Linked DNA regions of Homo sapiens: region 1 is linked to region 2. Evidence: promoter capture Hi-C in 16 types of primary human blood cells and fetal thymus (Javierre and others, 2016). All regions are on one chromosome and are shown on one strand. Each heading gives the region's core, a stretch centred on a gene start or on the middle of the fragment in contact. The rest is flanking DNA. Distances are from core to core; before and after follow the strand shown.

What was found. The method cuts DNA at HindIII sites, captures the fragments that hold promoters and counts their contacts. A CHiCAGO score of 5 or more calls a contact.
Region 1: a fragment that was not itself captured here is called in contact with the fragment with the promoter of ZNF154 in region 2 in 2 of 17 cell types (erythroblasts and non-activated CD4 T cells); the score reaches 6.3 in erythroblasts.

What each region holds. Positions count from the first base shown.
Region 1 is chr19:58,127,825-58,132,800 of GRCh38, forward strand. It overlaps ZNF329 (zinc finger protein 329), which reads right to left. Exons shown (of 4, transcript NM_024620.4): 4 at 1-1,687. The coding sequence starts at 1,679. The coding sequence ends at 54. Among named protein-coding and RNA genes, the nearest start is that of ZNF329, 20 kb to the right of the region's middle. The HindIII fragment of the contact is 2,632 bases long and covers 1,725-4,356 here.
Region 2 is chr19:57,706,210-57,710,898 of GRCh38, forward strand. ZNF154 (zinc finger protein 154) reads right to left here and starts at 2,995. Exons shown (of 3, transcript NM_001085384.3): 1 at 2,730-2,995. The coding sequence starts at 2,762. RefSeq lists enhancers at 2,583-3,222, 2,966-3,095, 3,116-3,175. The HindIII fragment of the contact is 9,236 bases long and covers 1-4,689 here.

The sequences.
Region 1 (4,976 bases), core at 1,791-4,290, 420 kb after region 2:
CTCCTAAACACAGGAGTGAGAGTGAACTGGAAGACTCATGTGGCCCCCAACCATTATGTTTCCATGGGTTGCTCTCCCAGGTGTGCTCTTTGATGTCGAACAAGGGATGAGCTCTTTTGGAACATTTTTCCACACTGAGGACACCGGCTGGGACCCTCCCTGCTATGGAGTCTCTGATGTACTGCCAGGTGAGAGTTCTGCTTGAAGGACTTCCCACATTCTGGACACTGATATGGGGTCTCCTTAGTGTGAATTCTCTGGTGCTTGGTCAGACAGGAGCTGTCCCTGAAGGCTTTGCCACACTGATTACACTCATAGGGCTTCTCACCAGTATGAGTCCTCTGGTGCCTAATGAGGCCAGCGATATTCCTGAAAAGTTTCTGACACTGGTTGCAGCCATAGGGCTTCTCGCCAGTATGAATCCTCTGATGCCTGATGAGGTACGCACTCTCGATGAAAGTCTTGCCACATTCTTTACATTCATAGGGTTTCTCCCCAGAATGGATCTTTTGATGCACAATGAGGTGAGAGTTTCTGTTGAAGGATTTCCCGCACTCTGCACACTCAAAGGGCTTTTCTCCAGTGTGAGTCCTCTCATGCTGGGTGAGGTACGAGCCGTCCCGGAAAGCCTTTCCACATTTGCTACACTCATAGGGCTTCTCACCGGTGTGGATTCTGAGATGCACTGTAAGGTGGGAGATGTCAGTGAAGGGTTTCCCACATTCGTTACATCTATATGGTTTTTCCCCTGTATGAGTTCTTTGGTGCAAAATTAAGGATGAATTTCGGTTGAAGGTTTTTCCACACTCTAGGCATTCATAAGGTTTCTCGCCTGTGTGAATTCTCTGGTGCTGTGTCAGAGCTGAGCCATCACTGAAAGCTTTCCCACATTTACTGCATTCATAGGGCTTCTCTCCTGTGTGGATTCTTTGATGCACAATCAGGTTGTAGTTCTTGGAGAAGGACTTTCCACACTCATTACAAGTATAAGGCTTCTCTCCGGTGTGAGTTCGGTGATGCAAAACAAGAGAAGAGTTCCGTTTGAAGCATTTGCCACATTCAGTACATCTATATTGTTTCTCTCCAGGGAGATTTCTCTGGTTTTCATTAAGCGATGAGCTCAGAGTAAAGATGTTCTCAAAATTCTTACCTTCATACGATTTCTTGCCTCTTTTCATTATTTTCTGATGACCAAGAGAGGTAAAATGATTAAAAGACTTAACACTTTCAGGGTATTTGTAGGGCTTCTCTCTCACTGGATTTCTTCCATGAATAACTTCCATGGAATGGTTGAAGCCTTTTCCACAGGCATCACTGTCACCAGTTCTCTTATCTGCATAACTTTTAGGATAGCTGGGTAAGGCGGGGTCACAATCCAGACCACTAACATTTGAGTCAGGTGCATGGAAACCATTTGTTGCCAGAACTCTCTGAGACGGTGGAAGGTCTGAGCTTGCAATCAAATGCTCCCCAAAACCAGGATATTCACAAATTGCTTCCTGAGTCCCTGGTTTCTCCAGAGTTAAAGCTGATTGCCTCAAGTGTCCCTCCTGGTTCTCACAGTCCCAACCATCACCTAAACTGGACAAGCAGGGAACTTCCCTTGTGAATCTTTCCACTTCTACATCACAGGGTACTTCTCTCTCAGGAAAATTCCGAGTCGTCATTTTCAATCTCATATCCCAAACTGCAAAAAGAAGAAAAATGCAGACTTAGGTATATGAAGCTTTATCTGTAAGAGAAACAGACAATGATGATGGGCTAGGTGTAAAGATGTGTATTTTTTTACTTGTTTTCTCTTTTAAATTCAAATTTATACAAGGAAGAGGTAAAATCGTAGCCAAGGAATGGAACCAAGAACAGATTCAAAAAGAGCCATGTAGCATTTTCATCTTCCTAGAGAGCAGGCAGGAGGAATGGACCTCGGGATAAATCATCACCAAAAGGATTAGTTTGAGATGTGAGAGACCAGAGGCCAAGCATCCCTGCTCCCCCTAGAATTCCATCCCAGCCACTGCATTCTTGTCCCTGTCACACACTGCCCATCAGTACACATTTCCAAAGCTCTGACTTCACAATGAGCTTACAACAGCACTGAAGGAACAGTTCTCACCCCAGCTCTGTCATCAAAGTTCTGCATTCATGGATAGGACAAAGCACAGGCTTGGTGACCTAAAAGTTCTGGGTCTAAGTCTTAGAACTGTCAATGACCTGGCGGGGCACAGTGGTTCACTCCTGTAATCCCAGCACTTTGGGAAGTGGAGGCAGGTGGATCATTTGAAGTCAGGAGTTCAAGACCAGCCTGACCAACATGGTGAAACACCGTCTCTACTAAAAATACAAAAAAAATCAGCCAGGCGTGGTGGCACATGCCTGTAGTCCCAGCTACTCTGGAGGCTGAGGCAGGAGAATCACTTCAACCTGGTAGGCAGAGGTTGCAGTGAGCTGAGATCACACCACTGCACTCCAGCCTACGCGGCAGAGTGAGACTCCATCTCAAAAAACAAAACAAAACAAAAACTGTCAAAGACTGCCCTGCATGGTTGTTATAAAAACTGGATCATGTCGGCCAGGCGCGGTGGTCACGCCTGTAATCCCAGCACTTTGGGAGGCCGAGGTGGGCAGATCACAAGGTCAGGAGATTGAGACCATCCTGGCTAACGTGGTGAAACCCCGTCTCTACTAAAAAAATACAAACAATTAGCCAGGCGTGGTGGCGGGCGCCTGTAGTCCCAGCTACTCGGGAGGCTGAGGCAGGAGAATGGCGCGAACCCGGGAGGCGGAGCTTGCAGTGAGCCAAGATCGTGCCACTGCACTCCAGCCTGGGCCACAGAGCAAGACTCCGTCTCAAAAAAAAAAAAAAAAAAAAACTGGATCATGTACAAAGCAGTCTCCAAGGCTAGGGGATGAAGGGCATTCTGTAAATGGTTGCATGTGTCTTCATGCATATCAATCTTCCTGTCACCATCCTTGTCCATTCAGACTTCACAATATTAAGACAACTGGTTGTCCATTCATTCGTTCATTCATTTGGTGGGATCGGGTCTCGCTCTGTCATTCAGGCTGAAGTGCAGTGGTGTGATCTTGGTTCACTGAAGCCTCAATCTCAAAAACTTCAAGCAATTATCCCACCTCAGCCTCCCAAAATGCTGCAAATACAGGGATGAGCCATTGTGCCCAGCCTTCTTTCTATTTTTTAAGGTAAAATGAAAATAGACCCTTGCCTCAGAATACATACATACATATATGTCTACATTCTAGGCAATTTAAATATATATACATGTATATGTGTATATGTGTGTGTGTGTGTGTGTGTGCGCGTGTATTTACATTTCAGAAGGATACAGGCTGCAACATAAAGTCAAAGTTTAAATAATGTAGTATGCCTTCATAAGTGTGGCAGACTTTGATCAACAAAACTTAACCAAAAAACCATATGGCCAAGCATTGGGGGTCATGCCTGTAATCCCAGCACTCTGGGAGGCTGAAGTGGGAGTTATCACTTGAGCCCACACAGAAGGCTGAGGCTGCAGTGAGCTGTAATTGTGCCACTGCATTCCAGATTGGGCAAAAGAGACCATGTCTTAAAAACAAAAAACAAAAACCAAAAAATAAAAAACAGACAAGGATTAAGAAGTCTGATATCAGCATTCAAATTTTCCATCCAATAAAAGACACAATAAGAGACAAAATGCAAGTGGCAGATAGGGAGAAAATAGGACTTAAAAGCACAAAGAATTATTGCCCAAGAGCTATAGAGGATTCTTACAGAGAGAAAATAAGATTTAAAAGCACAAAGAATTACTGCCCAAGAACTACAGAGGATTCTTACAGAACAGCACATAAAAAGAAAAAAAATGGGCAAAGTAATCAAAGAGCACTTCGTGAAGGGAAAATAGAAATGTCCTGAAAACATTGGCTGGGAGCAGTGGGTCACGCCTGTAATCCCAGCACTTTGGGAGGCTGAGGCAGGTGGACCACAAGGTCAGGAGATCGAGACCATCCTGGCTGACACGGTGAAACCCCGTCTCTATTAAAAATACAAAAAATTAGCCAGGCGTGGTGGCGGGCGCCTGTAGTCCCAGCTACTTGGGAGGCTGAGGCAGGAGAATGGCATGAACCCGGGAGGCAGAGCTTGCAGTGAGCCGCGATAGCGCCACTGCACTCCAGCCTGGGCAACAGGGCGAGACTCTGCCTCAAAAAAAAAAAAAAAAGAAAGAAAAAAAAGAAATGTCCTGAAAACATCAATATTTATTTTCTCATTCTATCATTCAGGCAATTCCAAACTGCGACTTTAAGAACACAAAATATACACATTTCACGTGAGTAAAAATAAAATGAAGTACAATAATATAAAGCTTTGGTAGGTCACAAGGGAAGAGGGCTTGGAAAGTGGTCAGCGTGCTTGGCAGGGTACCTTAGTGGCAGCTGTGAAAACATAAACTGGGGGCAGGCGCGGTGGCTCACGCCTATAATTCCAGCAGTTTGGGAGGCTGAGGTGGGTGGATCACCTGAGCTCAGGAGTTCGAGACCAGCCTGACTAACATGGTGAAACCCCACCTCCACTAAAAATACAAAAATTAAGCCAGGCACAGTGGCTCACGCCTGTAATCCCAGCACTTTGGGAGGCTGAGGCAGGTGGATCACCTAAGGTCAGGAGTTCAAGACCAGCCTGGGCAACTATGTCTCTACTAAAAATACAAAAATTAGCTGGACGCGGTGGCGCATGCATGTAATCCCAGCTACTCGGGAGGCTGAGGTAGGAGAATCGCTTGAGCCTAGGAGGCAGAGGTTGCAGTGAGACAAGATTATACCATTGCACTCCAGCCTGGGGGACAGAGCGAGACTCCGTCTGAAAAAAAAAAAAAAAAAAGAAAACATAAATTAGGTATATTCTACCACCCAGCAGTTCCACTGGTAGGTATCTCAGAGTCAGAAAGCTGGATAAACGAACATCAATCCATACCTACGTAGAT
Region 2 (4,689 bases), core at 1,745-4,244:
AGATCTCCCAGGGCATCCACTAGTGGTAGCAGCCCCAAATCCTATGAGGGCTCCCTGGCTGGCTCCATTCTTTGCCTCAGATTTAGGCCACACAGAACCACATGTGCATCTCAGATACCCATGGCCCTATTCCACTTCCGTGCTGCACTTGCTAGCCCCTCAGCAGTAACAACCTTCCTCTGTCCACTTAACACTCAAAGACTAGCTCCACTGATCACCTACCCCAGGCCAAGTGACTGTCACAGATGACCACATTGGCACCTGGCCTTATCCTCCAGGTTGAATAAACACCCTAGGCCCCATCAAAGTCATCAAAAAATCCTGGTGATTCCACAGAGTGCTGAATAAGCACAAAGGAAAAAAAGGACAGCCATTTGCCTCAAATACACCTATGCCTCTGCATCCACCTTATATCCACTCTTCCCTTGAAAGTGTATGCCACCTGCCCAACTATCCTCTCCAAACACCCTACCTCCATAGCCACTAACCTCCCTTACCTCTGTTTAGAAAGCCCAAGAATATCACCCACTTATCCAACCAAAAGGCTTGGTCCTTAGCCCCCATTCTGCCCTTCCTGGCCAAATAACCTGTACCACCATGCCTAAAGATTAACCCTTGTAGGCCGGATGCGGTGGCTTACGCCTGTAATCCCAGAACTCTGGGTGGCTGAGGCGGGTGGATCACCTGAGGTTGGGAGTTCAAGACTAGCCTGACCAACATGGAGAAACCCTGTCTCTACTAAATAAATACAAAATTAGCCGGGCGTGGTGGCGCATGCCTGTAATCCCAGCTACTCGGGAGGCTGAGGCAGGAGAATTGCTTGAAGCCGGGAGGCGGAGGTTGTGGTGAGCCAAGCTCGCGCCATTGCACTCTGGCCTGGGCAACAAGAGAGACACTCCATCTCAAAAAAAAAAAAAAAAAATAGAACAACCCTTCTAAATGTAATCCACAGCTCACTCACCTTAGTCCACACAATGACCACCACATTTTGGATGTCTCCATTCTGAAGCACTCCCCAGATTTCCAGACCTGGGTGTTCAGCCACCTACTTAATGCCTACTTAATGTCTCTGAAACATCTCAAACTCTTACATGACCAAATAAAGCTCCTGTTGTCTCCAGTGAATATTACTGTTAATACCAACTTCTCCATCTCAGTTGAAGAACCATGGGGTCATCGCTGAATCCTGTTTCACTCCCTCGCTGTCTACATCAGAAAATTTAGTTGCTCCCTTTAAAAATTTGCATCCAGAATGCAACACATCTCCTAATCAATGACTCTGGTCCATTACCCTGGACTGGCTGTAGCTTCCACTCTGATCTTCTTTCCTCTTCCCTCAACCCCACAGTCTGCTCTCCACGCTAACGGGATGGACCCTGTTAGGACTTTGGTAAGATCACCTCCCTCTTGTAACCCAAATCTCTCATTACCTCCAGAATAGGTACCCAACTTCTCAGGCAGCCACTGCAGTCCTGACTCCTTCCCCCTGCTCTTTGTTCCCAGCTAAAAGGAAACAGATCTATGGTTTCCTCAAAAATCTCAGCTTAGTTTTACTAAGCACTTGCGCCTCCTGATACCAGTGCCAGAGATAACCTTTCACAAGTTTCCACTGGCTGACAAAAATGGGAACACCTCAGTATAACCCCTGTAACCTCTGGCATGGACTTAAGAGCCCTGGGCTTGGAATTTCTCCAGGGCACCAGACCCAGGATTGGGGTAACAGCACTTAAGAATACTAGGAAACCACAATCCCAAGAACATGGGGGTAGAGGCTACTGAGGGACCGAACACTCTCCACTTCCCTATGTGAGTTCCATACGCCCTTCTACAACTGGGAGAACCAGGGAAAGAGGAATGCATCCCTGGTGAGGCTAGATGAGCTCAAGCCTCCCTGTAGCCCTGCCTGGCCCTGAACTCAGGCTGGCTGTTTTACTTTCTGGTCTCAGTGCTGTCACCTCTTGCCAACTGTAGGGCAATGAAAAAAAGATGTAGCCTCCCACTATCTCAATGTCCTCATCGCCCCATCGCTGCTCTTCCTGTGAACAGTCTTTGGAAAAGTTTTTAAACCCTAACATAGGGCGGGCACGGTGGCTCACGCCTGTAATCCCAGCACTTTGGGAGGCCGAGGCAGGAGGATCACTTGTCAGGAGTTCCAGACCAGTCTGGCCAAAATGGTGAAATCCCGTCTCTACTAAAAATACAAAAAATTAGCCGGACGTTGTAATCCCAGCTGCAGGCTTGTAATCCCAGCTGCTGGGGAGGCTGAGGCAGGAGAATCGCTTGAACCCGGGAGTCGGAGGTTGCAGTGACCCGAGATCGCGTCATTGCACTCCAGCCTGGGCGATAAGAGCGAAACTCCGTCTCAAAGAAAAAAAAACTAACATAAATGGCGTCCCTCCTTTGTTCAGAACTCTCCGTGGCTTCTAGCATCCTCACAATGACAGTACAACCCTAGGAGTAACTCCGCCTCATATTCTTCGTTCCCTGCAGAAAACAGCTTTCCGAATTCTCCTGGCTCAGTCGCGCCTCAACCTTTGCACGCGCCGGTTCCTCCGCCTGTCACGCTCTCCCACACCTCGTCACACGCAGTGTCAAAAAAAGGGCCCCACCCACGAACGCCTCAGTGTCCCCGACCCTGGGCAGCGGGGACTCGAGCAGGCGCCCCTCACTGATGGCTTTAGAACGTGGGTGGGGGAAGGTGTGTGAGGACGGGAAGACGCCGCACTCACCTGAGTTGGCGTCCTCAGAGTGGCCGCTGCCATCAGACTCTGCGGGTAGAGCTGGGCCGGGAGCGACGGGCGACATTGGTAGGGACCCGGGGACAGCGGTCCCTATCCCAGGCCTGACGTGGGTCCCCCAGGGCGGCGTCGCCAAGGCTTAGACGCTTTCGTGCAGGAGGGACGACGACTCCCCTCACGCCTTCGTGGCCCCAACTCGGCGCTCTGCTATCTCTGATCCGGTGAACACACCTCAGAGAAGCTAAAATGGCCGCCACGAAGAGGCCCCCCCAAAAGTCCCGTCCTTTCTTTTTGTGACTCTCAAGGAAAGTCGGTTTTCTGAGCTCTTACTGGCTTAGTAGCGTGGCGTTCAACGCAGAGCATTCTAGGTAATGTAGTTTTCATAGATCCCGAGGTGGGTGCCGGGGACCCTTTGCACCAACCTCTTGGAGTAAAAGCGAAGCTCCAGGGCGCTGGGCGATGAGAAATGGCTTATCCAAGTCCTAGGGCAGTGGAGGGACTTCGCCCTTTCTTAAATGGGTCGTAATCAGACAGCATATTAGAGGTGCCATCTGCAACTGATCACCCAAGTGTTTGGGGAATATTATTTCAAACTTCATAAAGTTCAGCAGGCTCCCAGAGGCTAAAATTATTATCAGACGCTCCCTAAGGCTGCCAATCCAAATATGTACATCATTCCATAGAGCCATTCAGACACGAAATATATCCACTAGTAGGGAAGCTAATAAACATTACCATATAAGTTTATTCCTTTTTTTTTTTTTTTAAGACAAAGTTTCCCTCTGTCCCCCAGGCTGGAGTGCAGCGGCGCCATCTGGGATCACTGCAACCTCCGCCTCCCGGGTTAATCGATTCTCGTGCCTCAACCTTCCAAGTAGCTGGGACTATAGGCGCGCGCCACCACGCCAGGCTAATTTTTTGTATTTTCAGTAGAGACAGGGTTTCACTATGGTGGTCCCAAATTCCTGGCCCCAGGTGATCTGCCCGCCTCGGCCTCTCAAAGTGCTGGGATTACAGGCGTAAGCCACCGTACCCAGCCTCTATCATATTACATTTCAAATGTATGCACTCCGAAGCATTGAAGTCAGTCTGTGCACTTTTGGTCAGGGACAGGTGAAAAACTACTTCAGATAGTGGCATGATAGTGCTTCTAGAAGATAGAAGAGAAATGTTAGATCACCTTGAAACAGTAGTACAAAGGTAGAATTCTGTCTGATTCCAACAGAAAACATCTTTTGCCTGCATAGTCAATTATTGTGTCCAATTACTGTGTCCAGTCAATAACTGTGTCCAATTCACTGAGCAACGCTTTTATCCATTTCATAATTCTTACTTGATATCTGAGATATATTCCTTCTAGAAGTCTAACATCAATCTCAAAAAACAATGAAAGAAATGCTACTTTGATAAGAGACAAAGGGGAGAGGTGGGACTTCTTAATCAGAAAGCCGGTGAAATGCACTTGAAGGAAGTGAGAAATGAGCCATGTGGGTATTTTTAGAATAAATTCCAGGCAGAAGAAGCAGGTTACTAGAGTGCCTGGATGGATGGAGACTTCACAGGGCATTTCAGCATTGGAGGGCCTAGGGCTCCAACCCAGCAGGCCTTCATCTGCTTTGCTGGCTGCAGAGACACTCAGGGTATATAGGTGAGAAATCTCTTCTTTTTTTTTTTTCTTTTTTTTTGAGATGGAGTTTCACTCTTATTGCCCAGGCTGGAGTGCAATGACGCAGTCTTGTTTCACTGCAACCTCTCCACCTCCTGGGTTCAAGCGATTATCTTGCCTCAGCCTCCCAAGTAGCTGGGACTACAGGCGCACGCCATGACACCCAGCTAATTTTTGTATTTTTAGAAGAGACGGGGTTTCACCATGTTGGCCAGGCTGGTCTCGAACCACTGACCTCAGGTGATCCACGCATCTCGGCTTCCCAAAGTGCTGGGATTACAGGCA